2 separate regions of the Homo sapiens genome follow, and region 2 is linked to region 1. The links are contacts of gene promoters, found by promoter capture Hi-C in blood cells and fetal thymus (Javierre and others, 2016). All regions are on one chromosome and are shown on one strand. The core of a region is centred on a gene start or on the middle of the fragment in contact, and the rest is flanking DNA. Distances in the headings are between cores, read along the strand shown. Region 1 holds the start of CCDC120 (coiled-coil domain containing 120). Region 2 overlaps OTUD5 (OTU deubiquitinase 5).

The links. Contacts are between HindIII fragments. The CHiCAGO score rates a contact against its expected background, and 5 or more counts as called.
Region 2: a fragment that was not itself captured here is called in contact with the fragment with the promoter of CCDC120 in region 1 in 1 of 17 cell types (M2 macrophages); the score reaches 5.0 in M2 macrophages.

The regions. Positions count from the first base shown.
Region 1 is chrX:49,057,709-49,060,408 of GRCh38, forward strand. CCDC120 (coiled-coil domain containing 120) reads left to right here and starts at 1,291. Exons shown (of 11, transcript NM_001163321.4): 1 at 1,291-1,387. The HindIII fragment of the contact is 2,580 bases long and covers 1-2,254 here.
Region 2 is chrX:48,925,899-48,928,598 of GRCh38, forward strand. It overlaps OTUD5 (OTU deubiquitinase 5), which reads right to left. Exons shown (of 9, transcript NM_001136157.2): 6 at 1-152. Among named protein-coding and RNA genes, the nearest start is that of PIM2, 8.2 kb to the left of the region's middle. RefSeq lists an enhancer at 1,559-2,197. The HindIII fragment of the contact is 737 bases long and covers 1,078-1,814 here.

The DNA of each region.
Region 1 (2,700 bases), core at 41-2,540:
CTTTTCTCACTTCAGGTCATGGTGTGGGCTGCTGCAGGGGTCTGGGTAGGGCTTGGGCCCTGGGTCACAGAGCAGATGGTCCTGAATGGAGCACAGGATGTGTGCTGTGTGCCGGGACTGGCCCAGAGCTCAGGTGGTAGTGGTGATGGTGGTGGTGGTGATGGTGGTGGTGGTGGGCGGGGTGAGGGGAGGCAGGGACAGTACGTCGTAAGGACTCAAAGCTCTCATTTCCTTCTCTGGCATGAAGCCTGACTCTCTGAAGAAGAGAGACCCAGCATGGATGTGAAGAAGCATGAGCCCCCTTCCCTACTTCTCCTTCCCACTTGCAGGAGTAGCCTCTGTCTGCCTCCCAGCCAGGACCCAGCCCCCGGAAATTCTGATTTCACCTGCTCTTCTGCCACTGTGATCTGAATCAGGCCTCTTCACCTTTCCAGGCCTCAGCTTCTGCATCTATAAAATGGCTGTGAGGAGGCTGGGTCTGTGCCATCCTGCTACATTTGTAGGAACCAAGAGGGATCAAAACCCATAAGTGTTTTGTAGGGTGTAAGTTGTGCTTGATTTATTGAGATTATTTCTTCTGGAGCCACAGAAGGATCTTGAGACCTGACCTCTCCTTAGAAAGGTTGACTTCCTCTGTCCCCAACTTGGGAAACTATTATTCCCCAGTGAGGGTGGGAATTGCCCCAAGGCCTTCTACCACTGCCTTGCCCTGGGAGGAAAGGGTAGGGGCCTCAGAATGTGATGCTTAGTGCCAAGACACAAAAACTCAGTTTACACCCGAAGCCTCCCATGTACTTTACAGCTCCCCACACCTCTATGGCCCAGATCCAAGTTGCCCCTTGGGTGGGCAGCGTCTAATCCTCTGGGAATTTGGGCAGTAGGAGAGGCAGCTGCTACTCCCACCACTCTCAGCCCTTCTTCCCAGTTTTCTGCTAAGTGTACGGGGTGAGGAGGCACAGGCCTCCATGCCTGGCCAGTTTTAAAAAAAATTTTTGTAGAGATGGGGGTCTCATTATGTTGCACAGTCTGGCCTTGAACTCTTGGCTTCAAGCAATCCTCCCACCTCAGCCTCCCAAAGTGCTGAGATTACAGGCACCAGCTACCCTGCCTGGCCCAGGCTGTCTTCTTAGACATGCTGAGCACCCTGAGTGGACCTGGCCCTGAAACTGCCCCCAGGGGTGACCCTAGTCCTGGTGGCAGACAGGCAAGGGTTAAAAGGTGTGGGCCGGCCCAGTTCCTGGCCAGGTAGGCTGGGCCATTACCTAGTGGGAGGTGGCCAAGGCATCTGCCACTGCTGCTGACTGCCACTACCAGCCGGAGCCAGGGCCTGGTCGAGACAACTATTTTTGAGGTATCTGAGGCTACCCCACAGCACTCTCTGGCATTGGTGAGCACCTGGGAGCAGTGGGCCCAGGGTGCGAGGGGGATAAGGGCATTGGGGAGCTGGGGCAGGGTGTACTGAAGTTCCCTTCGGTAGAGAGCTAGGTCTGTGGGAGAGGCACACCAACAATGCAGGGCAGGGTGGTGGTGGGGGGGTAGGGGGGCAGTGAGAATGGAGGGCCTGAGGACAGGGGCAAAGCCCAAAACACCAATTTCCTTTCCTGGCACCAAGCCGATTCCCGGCCGGAAATGGACGAGGAGGGATCGGGGAAAAGAGAAGTATGAGTCCCCCCTTCTCCACCCTATCCCTGCTTCCTTTCCTCCCCGCCAGGAGTAGCCTCTGTCCTCCCCCAACCCAGGGCCCAGCTCTCCAAGAAAGACCAGACTGGGCTACTAAGAAACCATTACTCAGGCACCTGCCTGCCTATGCCTGATTTGTTCACTGCAGTGGAGGAAGCAGGGGCTCTGGGGAGGGTAATGGCCCAGACATTGAGATTTTGTATTTGCTCTAATAGTGGCAGGATGTGGAAATGACCCCCCAACTGTTGGGGTGCCACCCAGGTGAGGTATCTTGGTTGTAAACAGTTATTACAGCCAGGAATTTCTTTCTCGGCTGTGGTGTCAGAATGGCAGACCTGAAAAACCTGCCGGGCCCGCCTCTGGGTGTGGGGGGTGCCCTCTACTGCTCTCCCGCTGCAGCTGGTCCCTGGGACAGGATGGGGGCCATGGGGTCACTGGTAGGGGGAGACCTGGGGTTGGTGTGGGGGTGTGCTGGGGAGGGGTTTGCTGGGATCCCTTTCTCGCCATCTGGGCGGGGATGAGGCAGCTCCAGGCCCCAAGGCAAGTATGCAGAGGGCAGGTGAGCGGAGGCAGAAGCTTAGGAACTGGGTGTGGGGGTGTGGGGCGTTGACTGTGTCTAGCCTGCCCAGTGACCCCATGACTCATACTCTAACTATGTCCCCCCGAGGTCGGGCTGATAGGGAGGAGTTGGGGTTCCTGTGTGGACCCTGTCTGGACTTCCAGGACGCTCTGAGAAATTAGAGAAGAAAGGATTGGCTGGGTGCAGTGCCTCACGCATGTAATCCCAGCACTTTGGGAGGCCGAGGCGGGTGGATCACCTGAGGTCAGGAGTTCGAGACCAGCCTGGCCAACATGGTGAAACCCAATTTCTACTAAAAATACAAAAGTAGCCAGGCATGGTGGCGTGCACCTGTAATCCCAGCTACTTTGGAGGCTGAAGTGGGAGAATTGCTTGAACCTGGGAAGTGGAGGCTGCAGTGAGCCAAGATCGTGCCACCACTGCATTCCAGCCTAAGTGAC
Region 2 (2,700 bases), core at 196-2,695, 130 kb before region 1:
TGCAGGTAGGATTCCCGAGCCACCTGCTCCTCGATGGCTTCATTTGTGGCCTCCCAGTCTGTGGCCCGTTTCTTGTCTTCTAGCATCTGCTGTTCAATCCATGACTCCTCCGATGTTTTTATGGCATTCTTCATCAGAGACTGCTCTGCAAACTGCAAGGAGGGAGAGGAACAGGGATGTGCAATAACACACTGAACCTGCCCAAGAGCCAGAACAGGCTCAGCGAGGTAGGCCCACAGGCCCCAGAAAAAAAAGGAGACAGGAAAGCAGGTACTCCCAAAGAGCAACACTCCACAGACTACCTCTTGATTGGGGACCAAGGGAAAGCAGGCTTGGGATGTGGGACCTGTCATTCCAAACTCCTATGCTTGTAAGACCTGACTCTAACCCCCAAACCACCTCAACTGAGGCACTGAGACTGGAGCAGTCAGGTGCCTTCCAACCTGGGACTTATTTTTTTTTTTTTTTCTGAGACGAAGTATCGCTCTGTCGCCCAGGCTGGAGTGCAGTGGGGTAATCTCGGCTCACTGCAACCTCCGCCTCCCAGGTTCAAGGGATTCTCCAGCCTCAGCCTCCCAAGTAGCTGGGATTACAGGTGAGTGCCACCACCCCCGGCTAACTTTTTTGTATTTTTAGTAGAAATGGGGTTTCACCATGTTGGCCAGGCTGGCCTTGAACTCCTGACCTCAGGTGATCCACCCGACTCGGCCTCCCAAAGTGCTGGGATTATAGGTGTGAGCCACTGCACCTGGCCCTGGGCCTTAATTTAAAGAAGCCCCATCCAGTGATGACTGTTTCATAATGTTGAGGACTTTCACACACATGAGCAGATGAGACACATACAAAAATTAGCTATGTGTGCACCGGGTGGAGGGAGTATTCAAGCATGTGAGGGGTTGGGGGAAGTAGTGGGTGTGTGAGGGAATAAGGGGGCAGTATCAACATGGTGTGGGGTGCTATGAGTTACAGGACACTACATCAGAGTACTGTTTTTCAGGCTGAGATCCAACAGCATTTTTAAAAAATAGAAAATATCAGAATATATCCCAGGGAATAAGTGCAAATGTTGTTTCATGAAGCTTTAGTTAACATTATTTTAATGCACATATACACATCACACACAAATGCATATATGCTAAGTAATCATGTAAAATGTATTCTTTTCTTTTTCCTGCAGACCTTGCATTCAGATAAAATGTAATTTTTTACTGTGAATAGTTAAAAACAATTCGTAAAACTATGTTAGAACAAGCCAATTAAAAAAATAGTCAAAAAATCTAACCACTCTGGCAGTGTTAAACACACTCCAAGTGTTTTTTCTACTCTCACTCAACAACAATCAACACAGGAGACTTCTGTGACCAAGTGTGCGGGCTGGGGGGAGGGTGTTTTCCCACACAGCAAGCAGCGGACACCTGGTGTCCATCCTCCAATGCAATTCAATACCCAGAGACAGCCTGGGATCCCACAGGTTGAGGGCTCAGTCCCACAAGACTCCCCCCAACCCCCTTCGAACACCAGTCGAAAGTCTGGGCCTCCAGAATTTCTGACTGACCAGCTATAAATTGGGATTCCCACAATACTTTTTTGGGGGTTCAACTAACTTGCTAGAGCAGCTCACAAAACCCAGGAAACACGTCTGCCAGTTTATTATAGAGAAAATTACAAAGGATACAGATGAGATGCACAGAGTGAGATATGGGGGAAGGGACGTGGAGCTTCCATGCCCTCCCTGGGGTGCCACCCTCTAGAAACTTCCATGTATTCAGCTACCCAAAAGCTCCCAGAACCCAATCCTTTTGGGATTCTTTGGAAGCTTCATTATGCAGGCATTATTGATTATGCCATTGGACACTAGTGATCAACCTAATCTTCAGCCTCTCTCCCCTCCCCAAAGGCTGGGGGATGGGCTTAAAGTTGCAAACCTCTAATCCTGCCTTGGTCTTTCAGGTCACCAGCCCCCATCCTGAAGCTACCTAGAGGCTGCCAGCCATCAGTCACCTCATTAGCATACAAAAAGGCAACACTTTGCAGATTCTAAGGATTTTAGGAATTGTATGTCAGGAAGTCACAAACACAATTCACCAAAGAAGCTATACAGATGGCAAATAAGCATATGAAAAGATGCTCAACAGCATTTGCCAATAGGCAACTGCAAGTTAAAATAATGAGATACCACTACACACCTAAGAGAATGGCTAAAATCCAACACAATGACAGTATCAATTGCTGGTAATGCTGACAACAGGAACTTCCAAATCATTATGGTGGGCATGCAAATAATACAGCCACTTGGGAAGACAGTTTCTCAGTTCCTCATAAATCAAAACATAATCTTACAACGCAATCCAGCAATCTTGCTCCCAGGTATGTATACAACTGATCTAAAAAATTACGTCCACAAAAAAACCTGCATGCACATTACAGAAGCTTTATTCATAATCATCAAAAACTGGAAGCAACCAAGAATGTCTTTTAATAGGTGAATAATTAAACTGGTACCTCCATAAAAGGAACATTAAGTGATAAGAAAGAAACCAGCTAACAAGCCATGAAAGAACATGGAGAAACCTTAATGCATACTGCTAAGTGAAAAGAAGCAGTCTGTCACATTGACCATTTTAATTTCAGGGGGGAAAAAAGCAAATTGGCTGCAGGTGGCTCACCCCTGCAATACCAGCACTTTGAGAGGCCAAGGCG